Regions from separate parts of the Homo sapiens genome. Here region 2 is linked to region 1. The links are contacts of gene promoters, found by promoter capture Hi-C in human tissues and cell types (Jung and others, 2019). All regions are on one chromosome and are shown on one strand. Each heading gives the region's core, a stretch centred on a gene start or on the middle of the fragment in contact. The rest is flanking DNA. Distances are from core to core; before and after follow the strand shown. Region 1 holds the start of HSPB8 (heat shock protein family B (small) member 8). Region 2 overlaps LOC105370026 (a long non-coding RNA gene).

The links. Contacts are between HindIII fragments. The study calls those that stand out against the background at their distance.
Region 2: a fragment that was not itself captured here is called in contact with the fragment with the promoter of HSPB8 in region 1 in 6 of the 25 tissues and cell types used here (adrenal gland, hippocampus, neural progenitor cells and 3 more).

What each region holds. Positions count from the first base shown.
Region 1 is chr12:119,176,352-119,182,721 of GRCh38, reverse strand. It overlaps HSPB8 (heat shock protein family B (small) member 8), which reads right to left and starts at 3,791. Exons shown (of 3, transcript NM_014365.3): 1 at 3,043-3,791. The coding sequence starts at 3,409. HSPB8-AS1 (HSPB8 antisense RNA 1) reads left to right here. Exons shown (of 3, transcript XR_007063482.1): 3 at 520-1,555. It overlaps LOC105370024 (a long non-coding RNA gene), which reads left to right and starts at 6,238. Exons shown (of 2, transcript NR_134996.1): 1 at 6,238-6,315. RefSeq lists enhancers at 3,439-4,188, 5,368-6,370. The HindIII fragment of the contact is 13,927 bases long and covers 1-6,370 here.
Region 2 is chr12:119,213,888-119,220,257 of GRCh38, reverse strand. The region is part of intron 2 of LOC105370026 (a long non-coding RNA gene); the gene reads right to left. Among named protein-coding and RNA genes, the nearest start is that of HSPB8-AS1, 33 kb to the right of the region's middle. RefSeq lists an enhancer at 1,061-1,562. The HindIII fragment of the contact is 6,029 bases long and covers 1-5,777 here.

The sequences.
Region 1 (6,370 bases), core at 2,542-5,041:
GTGGTATAGGGTGGGAAACTGGATCTGACTTCCAACTTCCCTTGAAAATTGCTTTTTATTTATTTTTATTTTTTATTTTTTTTGAGACAGAATTTCTTTCTTGTTGCCCAGGCTGGAATGCAGTGGCACGGTCTCAGCTCACTGCAACCTCCACCTCCCAGGTTCAAGCGATTCTCCTGCCTCAGACTCCTGAGTAGCTGGGATTACAGGCGCTCACCACCACACCCGGCTAATTTTTGTATTTTTAGTAGAACGGGGTTTCGCCATGTTGACCAGACTGGTCTCAGACTCCTGACCTTAAGCGATCCTCCCGCCTTGGCCTCCCAAAATGCTGGGATTACAGGCATGAGCCACCGCACCCGGCCCGAAAGTTGCTTCTTAAATAGAGCTCCTGATATCAATTTTATTTTTAAACCCCTTTTATGAAAGCCCTTGTATGGACTCTCAGGGAATTTGGATTTTGTCTAGCCGATGTCACTAATTGCATGTCTGAAAAGCTTTGTCTTTGTCTTATTTAAGCTCCCAATGACCCCATTTTACAGACGTGGAAATTGAGACTGCATGACTCACCCAAAGCCTCTGGATTAGTAAGATACTTAGCTGAGATCTCAACATGGAGCTGCCAGACCCCACCTGTTATGAAGCACCTACAAAAGAGGATGGTGAAAAACCCTCCAGGCTGGACAGAGGGTCTCCTAGAGGGACCACAGGGTGGAGTCGACCCTTGGACTTGGGCTAGAAGCATCTAAGACCCTAATTAAAACAAGGACAGAAGGAATGGTGATAATCGGTCTGTTTACAGAGTGCCAGGCAAGCACTATTATTAGCTCCATTTTATAGACACTCCGCATATATTATCATAGATAGTCTGCATATGTTTAATCTTTCCTACACCCTTACAGGACAGATATTATTATGGTCTCCATTCTGCAAATAGGAGAAATGAGGCTCAGAGGGATGAAGACTTTCTCGTCCACATCCGCCATGCTAGTGAACAGCAGTGCTGGGATCTGAACCCAGGTTTCAAAGAGCATCTATTATTCATTATTTATTGGGGCCTTCCTGGATGCCTGACACTATAACAATAACGACGACAATAATAATACTAATTCCTTGTGTTCCAGGTCATAGAATGTGAAAGGAAAATAAATCTTGGGGCCCCCAAATCACTAAGCTAAAGGGAAAAGTCAAGCTGGGAACTGTTTAGGGCCAACCTACCCCCCATTCTATTCAAAGGCAGCCCTCTGCTCACTGACATAGATGCATTATCTGTTTGTCTCCTTTGGAAAGGCTAATCAGAAACTCAAAAGAATGCGACCATTTGTCTCTCACCTACCTGTGACCTGGAAAACCCCTCCCTGCTTCAAGTTGTCCTGCATTTCTAGATCGAACCAATGTACTTCTTACATATATTGATTGATGTCTCATGTCTCTCTAAAATGTATAAAATTAAGCTGTGCCCAGACCACCTTGGGCATGTGACAGGAGGACTTCCTGAGGCTGTGTCATGGGAGTGTCCTCAACCTCGGCAAAATAAACTTCCTAAATGAACTGAGATCTGTCTCAGATTTTCTGGGTTCACAGGTATGTACACATTTTACAGCATCACCTCACTTAAAACAACAATCCTTATGGTATAACCATTTGAACCCTAATTTCCAGATGAGGAAACAAAACAGAAGCACAAAGTGAAGTAATTTGCACATCCTGCTGGTTAAAGTTGGAGCCAGTTTCGGAACTCATGCCCTGCTCCCCAGCCAACTCAGAAATCTGGCTGACCCTGTCATCAGCACGTGGCCCCAGCGTGTCTCCCAGCCCACCACACCCGCTGGAGCCTCTGATGTTTATAATTCTACCAGGACTGGCTTGAAACTCCCCCTGAATGCTGCTGGGGCTTGTTCCTGCCCAGCCTGTGTTTGCAATGGCTTTGACTGATTTTCTGGAAGGCAAGCCTCTGCCGGGAACACATTCTTTTTAATGGAGTGTTAATCAGGAGGGAAGGAAAAGAAAGATTTTTCTACTGCCCAGCTTCACAGGGGCTGAGCTTCCTGTCTTCTCTCATTTTTCCCCCTAGTATGTTTATTTCTCCCAGGGTGGGATGCGGCAGTGAGAGCCCTGGGCCTAAAGCTGTGCATAGGCCCAGTCCCTACTCCACTCCTATTGCTGACTCATGGCATGACTGTGAACGAGTCCCACCTAGGCCTCAGCCTCCTCAGCTGCAAGATGGGCCTACCCTGCTACCCTGGAGTGGACTGAGGATGATTTTGGAGAAGTATAAGAATGTCAGCCCACCCTTGGCACCTAGTAGGTGCTCAGTAAATCATCACTTCTTCTTTCTGGCCTCCTAATTCCCAGACAACCTGGGTCTGACTCCTTGGTGGCCTTGAACAAGTTACTTTAATCTCTCCGTGCCTCAGTTTCCTCATCTGAAAAAAGAAGATAAACAGTACCCACCTCCTCTGGTTGTGGTATTAGCTGAGATATTATAGGCAACAGCAGTTAGCAAAGTGCTGAGCGAATAGTTAGCACTCAGAGTTACCAGTTAGTGTTACTACAATTACTGGTAAGCCTCAGTTTCCCTGTCTGGGACAAGGAGAGGTGTTTCACCGGAAACCAGTTGCGGTTATTAACACTATCATTGTTCAGCCTTAACGTGCACTTCTAGACTCTGTTATGATGCTGGAGTGCACAAAATCCCGTTTCTTCTTTGTTTTTTAATTCTTTGATATCTGCTTAACCTATTCTTTATATTAAATGCCCTCTGTCAAAATATCCAACATGGTTTCTATTTTCCTGTCTGTACCATGATTGATGAGCACCCAGAGGCCCCAATAGCTGAGTCAGGCAGGTTAAGATCTCTGCTGGGAGCCGGGAGAGAAGTTTTCCGTAAAGATAACTTTGCAGGCTGCATTCCTGAGCCCTGAGGTCACCTGTGTCACACTGTCCCAACGTCAGCTCCCAGGAAACTTTCTCTGGCTATTCCCAGGGCTGAGGGCTACATCCCGGCCTCCCCATTCTCTCTCCCTCCTGCCCCTGACTTACCAGACACCTCCACGTATCCATCTTTGGTCTTCACCATCAACTCCTCTGGCTTGAAGCTGTGCACATTCACACACACTTTCCAGGGCTCCCCAGGGAAGGGTGGGGGGGTCCTGCCCTCGGCAGGCACCCCAAACCTGGCGGTGGCAGTGGGGCCCCGGGGCACCATGCCCGACCTTAGGGTGCCTGGCCAGGCGGAGGAGAGACGAGGCAGAGCCCAGTCGGGCCAAGAGGCTGTCAAGTCGTCTGGGAAGGGGTCCATGCCAAAGCCATCATCCAGCAGGCGAGAGGAGAGGGGAGAGTCCCGGAAGGGGTCTCGGCGCAGGCGGCTTGGGTAGTGGCAGGAGAAGGGCATCTGACCGTCAGCCATGGTGGCTGCTCAGCTCAGAGAGAAACAGAGGCTCAGAGAGACAGAACCACCTGCCCAAGGTCACACAACAAGGTGGTGTGGCTGGGCTAGCTTATTCTTCAGCTTCCGAAAATGCTGCTTTTCTGCAGGGAGAAGCAGAACCAACCACTGCCAGGGACGGTTGTGTCCCCTCGACTGGGGTCCCAGCCCCCAAAGGTAACCCCCGGGGCAGATCCAGCAGAATCCCAGAGGGTCCCCGTCCGCACTGCCTCACGACAGACCGGCAAGCCACCGTCCTCCCAGGCTTCCCAGGCTGCCCAGGCTGGCAGCCAGAACCGCTGAGGTCTAGAGCGGAGCCAGGAGCTTAATAAACCCAGGGCACGCGCGCCTAGAAACTTCTTCTGGCTCCTTCTGGGCTGCAAGCCTTCTATTTATTTGCTGCTGGAGGCTGGAGGCGGGTTTTGCAAGCGTCTCCTGTCACAGGAATATTCGGAGGTGATGAACCAGCCCCGGAGAATCCGCGGAGGGAACAGCTGGGCTGTGGGGGGAGCTGGGAGGGGCCGCGTCCAAGTTCAGCCGGCCTCTCCGGACACTCTCTCCTCCCCTGGCCACTCCGCTCAGCTCCGCCCTCCTCTTGCTCCAGGAGCTGGAGCCGCCCTCCCCGAGCGGGGCACTAAGGCCTGGCTATTAATAACCCCGAGCCTGGCTGAGGGCTCAGGTCACCCTCTGGAAATACCTTCCCTAGAGCGTGTCGTATCCTGCCTTTCCCCTGGGGACCTGCAGAAAGGGAAGAGAGAGACAGGAGCCCAGTGGATTTGAAGGATGGCCCTGGGTTGCAATCCCCACTTACAAGATGGCCAAGCTCCTAGAGCCTCAATGCCCTCTGGGGAGATTGGTAAAGGAAAAAAAAAATTTTTTTAATGTGTATATATATATTCATATGACGCTTGTTAAAGTATGACAAGCAAGACTTTACTGGGCAGGGAAACTTTCTCCATAGATGTAGGGACCCCTGCAATGGGATTTTGCAGTGAGGGAGAAAGATTAGACTTGATTCCCAGTAGGTCATGGGTAAGTGTGAATTTGTAGCCAAGAAGCAGGTGGGGGGTCAGCGAATGGAAATTTACTAGGAGGGAAGTCCAGGAGTCAGAGGGATTCGGGCTCAGCTAACCTAAGAGGATTCTTGCTGAAGACAGGCCAGGGTGCTCAGACATCACCTGGGGGACCGCGGAGGATGAGGAAACTAATCAGATATCGAGGGTGATCAGAAATCGAAGATGGGTGGTTGCTACTAAACAGACTTAGCAGAGTTCATGCCAAAACTGAATTTTTCTTTCTTTCTTTTCTTTTTTTTTTTTGAGACAGAGTCTCACTCTGTCCCCCAGGCTAGAGCGCAGTTGCGCCATCTCCGCTCACTGCAACCTCCGCCTTCCAGGTTCAAGCGATTCTTCTGCCTCAGACTCCCGAGTAGCTGGGATTATAGGCACCCGCCATCGTGCCCGGCTAATTTTTGTATTTTTTAGTAGAGTTGGATTTCACCATCTTGGCCAGGCTGGTCTTGAACTCCTGACCTCATGATCCACCTGCCTCCACCTCCCAAAGTGCTGGGATTACAGACGTGAGCCACCTCGCCTGGCCCAAAACTGAATTTTTATAAGGAACCTCACTGATGGGCTTAGGAGAAGATTCAGAAATCCGATTAATGTTTGGTCAATCAAAGCATCTTTATAGGCAGTAACATTATTCCCAGGCACCTCCAGGTTGTTAGTTTTCCTCCTTATAAACGGACATAACAGTAGCCAACTCACAGATGTACCATGAAGAATACATGAGGTAATTCTCTTTCTCCTTGTATTTTCAATTTTGAGTTATCAATTACATAATGTTTGCTATATGCCAGGCCCTGCTCTATGGGCTTTATAAATATGAATTCATTTAACCCTCACCAGCAATCCTGTGAGGTAAGAGTACCAGTATTATCCCATTTTACAGATGAGAAAACTACCATAGAAGTGTTCATGAATAGTAGCTTCTATTATTATTATGACTGTTAATACTGATAATTATTGAAAGATGTTACACTCAGGCAGGAGGTCTGGTCTGAAACTCAAAGCCCCAAATCTAGACTTTCCTGCTCTTCCCATGCAGCTGGAAGAATGAATTTACAAATCCTCCTTTGGCTTGGAGGCCTCTTCGGCTTGGGTTCTAATCTTTGATCTGTCCGCAACAGGCAGAAAATTTTAGGCATGTCGTTTTCCCTGTGTGGGCTTTCGGGTCTCAGCCCTGCCTTCTTCACGAGATGAGGGTAAACTGAGGATATTAAGGAATTCAGTGAGTCATAGGTTGAGAAATTGTTTTGATATTAAACAGTGAGTGCATGAGGCAGTTTGCTAAAAATAATAATACGGAGAAAAACAATCACTGTCGCCCATTGCCTCCTGTGCGTCTGCTTTTAGAGTTAGTACATTTCAGACATTACTGAGTTAAATCCTGACTCGATAGTTAAACGTCACTATTATCATCACCCCCATTTTGCAGGTGAAAAAACAGAGGCACAGAGGTTTGACCCTTGCACACAGATATGGAGTGGCAGAGCCTGGGTGGGAACCTGGGTTGTTCTGAATCCCGGATCTGTGCTTAACCGACAGACAGAGACCCCTGCCCTCCTCCCCAGCTGAGAAAGAATGGTGGGGACCCCACGGCATGACATGTCCCGAGTGACTGGGCCCCCACTGGATGTAGGGTGAGCTCATCAGGCTGGAAGCTTCGGGCTGACGTCATGGCTGGGCACAGAAGCTTCAGCTCTCTCTGTAATTACAGCTGGGCGGGGCTGGCTGAGTTGGAAACCAGTTGTGGGGAGAATCACTGCAAGCCGCATGACGCACCGGAGAAACCTGGCCCTGCCTGGGACCTGGGCAGGGGCTGGGGTGAGGTTTCTGAGTGGGTGGGACAGAGTGGAATGAGTTTGTGTGCGGATTTGAG
Region 2 (6,370 bases), core at 1,514-4,013, 39 kb before region 1:
CTCTCTATCTCTCTCTCTCTCCCTCTGAGAGCAAGAAGGTGGCTGTCTGCAAGCCAGGAAGGGAGCCCTCACCAGAAGCTGAATTTACCAGTACCTCAATCTTGGACTTTCAGCTCCAGAAATGTGAGAAAATAAATTTCAGTTGTGTTTAAACCAAACCATTGGAGTATTTTGTTACGGCAGCCAGAGCTGACTAATACAGACTCCCTCCATAATGAGGGGCTCTGAGCTTCCCACCTGCTACACAACAATGAGAAGCCTCCCTTATGTGTTTTCTGACCTGAGGAAGGGAATCAGATGGACCTGGGTTGAAATCCTACCTCTGTTGCTGCCTGGCTGTGTGATCTTGGAAAGCCCCTTCACATCTCTGAGCCTCAGTTTTCTCATCTTTTCAGTAGTGGTAACAGTTGCCTATTTCCCTCCTCAGGACATGGTAAGAATTAAATGAAGTAATGCATCTGCACGCAACCTGACTGATCATTCCCCCGCTTAAAAATCTCTTTGGATGAGGCCACATTACAAAGATGAAAGAATGCCTGCAAAGGGCCTGGTGCACAGTGGGGGCTCACCATAGATCAGTTTTCTCATTTCTAAGGATTCATTTATTCATTTGTTGCGGGAAGTCAGGGACCCCGAACGGAGGGACTGGCTGAAGCCATGGCAGAAGAACATAAATTGTGAAGATTTCATGGACATTTATTAGTTCCCCAAATTAATACTTTTATAATTTCTTACACCTGTCTTTACTACAATCTCTGAACATAAATTATAAAGATTTAATGGACACTCATCACTTCCCCAATCAATACTCTTGTGATTTCCTATGCCTGTCTTTACTTTAATCTCTTAATCCCATCATCTTCACAAGCTGAGGATGACCCTGTGATAATTGCATTAACTGCACAAATTGTTTAAGCAATATGAAATCTGGGCACCTTGAAAAAAGAACAGGATAACAGCAATGTTCAGGCAACAAGGGAGATAACCTTAAAATCTGGCTGCCTGTGGGCCGGGCAGAACAGAGCCATATTTCTCTTCTTTCAAAAGCAAATAGGAGAAATATTGCTGAATTCTTTTTCTCAGCAAGGAACATGCCTGAGAAAGAGAACATGTCCGTAAGGGGAGGCCTCTGAAATGGCTGCTTTGGGGGCGGCTGTCTTTTACGGCTTAATAAGGGATGAAATAAGCCCCGGTCTCCCGTAGTGCTTCCAGGCTTATTAGAACAAGGAAATTCCCGCCTAATAAATTTTGGTCAGACCGGTTGTCTGCTCTCAAACCCTGTCTCTGGATAAGATGTTATCAATGACAATGCATGCCCGAAACTTCATTAGCAATTTTAATTTTGCCTGGGTCCTGTGGTCCTGTGATCTCACCCTGCCTCCAATTGCCTTGTGATATTTTATTACCTTGTGAAGCATGTGATCTCTGTGACCCACACCCTATTCATACACTCCCTCCCCTTTTGAAAATCACTAACAAAAACTTGCTGGTTTTGCTGCTTGGGGGGCATCACAGAACCTGCTGACATGTGATGTCTCCTCCGGACACCCAGCTTTAAAATTTCTGTCTTCTGTACTCTTTCCCTTTATTTCTCAGACCAGCTGACACTTAGGGAAAGTAGAAAAGAACCTACGTGAAATATCGGGGGTGAATTTCCCCCGATATTCATTCATTTATTCATTACTCATCAAATAATTGTCTTTTAGTGCCTCAATTTTCTCATCTGTCACATGGGGGCACTAAAATATATTTGATTGAACCACAGGAAATTGTTAATATTGGACTGTTTTAACCTACAGAAAATGGCAGTTTCATAGAGTGTGACCTAATACCACCTGGGTATTGTGATAATGATTAAAAGAGTTAAGCTTTATGAGTTCAGATCTATAAAATGTTTAGCACGTGGTGACAGTGCAAAAAAAAAAAAAAAACATGAACCCAAATGATGGCTTTAATAATGATGATGGCAATGATGCTGCTGCCGATGACGCTTATTGTATACAAGTTCTGAGCTATTCCCCACAAGTATGATGGGGACAGAGTGCCATTTTATTCTTCAAGAAACTTACAGTCTAAAGGGCCAGGTGTAGTGGATTGTGCCTGTTAATCCCAGCACTTTGGGAGGCCGAGGAGGGCAGACCACTTGAGGTTGGGAGTTCGAGACCAGCCTGGCCAACATGTGAAACCCTTTTTCTACAAAAAATACAAAAATTAGCCTGGCATTGTGGTGCACGCCTATAATTCCAGCTACTCAGGAGGCTGAGGCACAAGAATTGCTTGAACCCAGGAGGTGGAGATTGCAGTAAGCTGAGACTGTGCCACTGCACCCCAGCCTGGGCAACAGAGAGAGACTCTGTCTAAGAAAAAAAAAAAGAAAAGAAAAGAAAAGAAAGAAAGAAAAAAAGAAACTTACAGTCTGGTAAGGGAGGGAAGTAGGTGTGGATGATCCAGTGACAGGTGCATTGATGGTTATGCAGTCTGTCTTGGGAGCCCCGGGTATAAGAGGAGATAGCTAGAAGAAGCAGAGTGCTAAAGGTAGGAGCATTGGCCACCTGAAGAAAACTGAGGACAGGCCACAATGTTACAGGCAGAAAGAAGCACATGTATGAACAGCTGCAAGACAGAGCATCAGATGTCTCCTAGGTAACCCATGTCTGTTGTGGCTGTCTCTCTCTGAGGTGCTGTTCTCACCTGGCTCAAAGACAGAGGTCATCATTCCTGAATCACAGTCCAAGATGTTTGAACCCTCAACCCCTGTGTGCCCCTCTGAGCCCCACCTTGATTCCTTGCCCGAATCTCCCTCTCAGTTCCAAGCGCATTCCTGCAAATGTGATTGAGAATTCTTTGCTAACACTCCTTGCCTGTGGTGTCATCTTGTTCCTGCCACCCTACTTCTAAGCTCACACCAGCCTGTCTTCCTCTTGCCTCATAAGGACTATCATCGGGTTTGTGTGTCTATATCACTCAATGAACAAGTATGTTCATGTATTCCCTACCAGAAACTGTGTCTTTTCCTCCATTATACCCCCAGCAACTTGCAAAGTGCCTGGCACATAGGAACTACTCCTTAAATGTCTGTTGCAGTATGAATAAGTGAATGAAGATGAATGAGCAACATATATTGAGGGCCTGGCATGTAACAACCCCAGACTCTTGGACCTATTGAAATAATCTAATCTAGTAATTCTCAAACGTATTGATCTCTGGACACTTTAGACTCTTAAAAATTACTGAAGACCCCAAATAATGTGTTTGTATAGATATAGCTATCATTATTTACTACTTTAGAAATTAAAACTGACACATTTTTAAAATATTTATGTATAAATCCATTTAAAAACAATAGGCAACCCATGTGATGTTAACAAAAATATCATATTTTTATGAAAAATAACTATATTTTCCAAAAAACCGAGAAGAAGTACATTGTTTTATATTTTTGCAAATCTCTCAGATGTTCAACATTCAATGATGACTGGATTCTCATTGCTGCTCCTGCCTTCATTCTATTGTGATATCACTGGTCATGTTGACTAAGCGAAATTTTTCTCTCTACTCATGAGAGTATGAGAGTGAAAAAGGCAAATAACACCTTAGTAGTGTTACAAAAAATAGTTTTGATCTCGTGGACCCCCTGAAAGTGTAGTGGGAGCCCTCTGGAAGCCTCTAATCTCTCTTTGAGAAGGATGGATCTAGTCTGCCTTTACCATTTTAAATTTTACAGAGAAGGAAACCAAAGACTAGAGATATGAAGGGATTTCCCTAAAACTAGAAGCAAATTTCTCAGATTACAACAATAACGACAATGAGAGCTATCATGCATTGAGCTCTTACTATGTGCCAGGCACTGTGCTCAGCACTTTAAGGGCTGATCTCATGAAATCCTTGATGCAATTCTCTAGAGTTGGAACTATTTTCACCTTGGTTTACAGAAGAAACTAAAGCCCAGAGAGGTTATGTCAGTTACCTAAGATCACACAGCCAGTCAGCAGCAGAAATAGGATTCAAACTCAGAGTTACGTATTTGAGTTTTGGCTCTTAGTCCATGATCCACATTCCTGCAGCATAAATACATACTTGAGGGCTGGGTGCGGTGGCTCACGCCTGTAATCCCGGCACTTTGGGAGGCTGAGATGGGCGGATCATTTGAGGTCAGGAGTTCGAGACTAACTTGGTCAACATGGTGAAACCCCATCTCTACTAAAAACACAAAAAGTTAGCTGGGCATGGTGGCGGGCGCTTGTAATCCCAGCTACTCAGAAGGCTGAGTTAAGGAGAATGGCTTGAACCCGGGAGGCAGAGGTTGCAGTAAGCCGAGATAGCACCACTGCATTCCAGCCTGGGCAACAGAGTGACATTCCGTCTCAAAAAGAAAAAATGCATACTTGTATGTGGAAGCTAATAAAGAGGACAGGGTCCTCTTAAAATGTGGGTGGCCTTCAGTGCCCAGAGAGAGTAGGGGTGCTCCAGAGAGTTGGAGTAGAGCTGGAGGGTTAGGGCTTTGGCCGAAGTTGAGCACAAAGGAAGTTGGAGGTGAATCTTTGTGGACCTCCCCGCAGACCTCACAGGGGGCACTCTGTTTGTCTGCCCCAGCAGTTCACAGTCAATTTGGCCAATTTATCAAAAATCAACTCCATGATCAGTAGTTCCCTAAAATAATCAAGATGCTTGAAATCAATCGATCCAATCGGTCAAATTTGCCAGTTTTCCAAAACTGTATTTTAAGGAAAACTCTTATCAAATATAATTACTGAAGACGAACATCCTGCTCTTGAACATAGTCAATGACTACATTCTCATAATATGCTCTTTTAATCAGTTCAATGGTAATTCTCAGTGAATTTATGCTTCTTGAATACTCTTATCCAAAAATGTAGCCAGGATATTTTAATTATATTCAAGACTCTGTTTAAGATATTCAATAATCTATTCTTCATTAGCAGATAGTCATAAGAAAGCTAAACAGCCCCCATGATATTTAGTGTTAGACAAATTAAGCTTAAAATGCTGCTGAGAAGGATATGTTCTCTGAATATGTTCAAGACTAATATATTAAGCAGACCATATTAATATTCATTGGATATATTCAGGAAGGCTAGTCTTCAAGAACATTTTTGGCAAATTCAGAAATTGGTAGACTGGTGGTCTGTCTGGCTTTCGGCCAGTCTGAGGACAGGCATCCTGCAATCACCGTGGGAGTCATGAGATGACAACCCTATTCAAAGGCTATGAGTTGCATTAGAAGCCTCGGAGAGTAAGAAAGCACTGTTGTGTCCCCAAACACCATTTTGACCCTTTGGGCACCTTCATGAGAGGAAACAAAAAAGCAGAAGAGAAAAGAGAGAGAGGGGTTCATGTTGCCTGCCATTCACTGCCATGTCCCAAAGACACTGTGAGCATTATCTCCCTTAGTCAACCCGAGGAGTTGGTAATGAAAATTACCCCTTTACTAATGACGATGCTGAGGTTTGGATAGGTGAAGTGACTTGCCTAAGATCCTCTAGTTAGTTGAGGGCAGAGTGGGGATTTGCACTTAGGCAGGGTTGGAAATTGCACTCAGGCAGGGTAACGATTTGGACTCTGACAGAGTGGAGATGTGAACTCAGGCAGAGTGGAGATTTGCATTCAGGCAGAGTAAACATTTGAACTCAGGCAGAGTGGAGAGTTGAACTCAGGCAGAGTGGAGATTTGAACTCAGGCGAGTGGAGATTTCAACCCAGGCAGAGTGTAGATTTGAACTCAGGCTGAGTGGAGATTTGAACTCAGGCAGAGTGGAGATTTGTGCTAAGGCCGAGTGGAGATTTGGACTCAGATAGAGTGGGGATTTGCATTCAGGTAGAGTAAATATTTGAACTCAGGCAGAGTGGGGATTTGAACTCAGGCAGAGTGGGGATTTGCACTCAGGCAGAGTGGGGATTTGAACTCAGGCAGGGTAGAGATTTGCACTCAGGCAGAGTAGAGATTTGAACTCAGGCAGAGTAGAGATTTGAACTCTGGCAGAGTGGAGATTTGTGCTAAGGCCAAGTGGGGATTTGAACTCAGGTAGAGTGGGATTTGCTTTCAGATAGAGTAGATATTTGAACTCAGGCAGAGTGGGGATTTGAACTCAGGCAGAGTAGAGATTGGAACTCAGGTAGAGTAGAGATTTGAACTCTGGCAGAGTGGTGATTTGAACTCAGGTAGAGTGGGATTTACTTTCAGGTAGAGTAGATATTTGAACTCAGGGAGAGTGGAGATTTGAACTCAGGCAGAGTGAGGATTTGAACTCTGGCATATGAACTTCACCGAATCAATGAAAAAAGAAATGAAAGGTGAGGTGGTGCCCTGTTAGTGGGAACTGAATGGATGAGGGCTGGATGTGAAGGAGCCT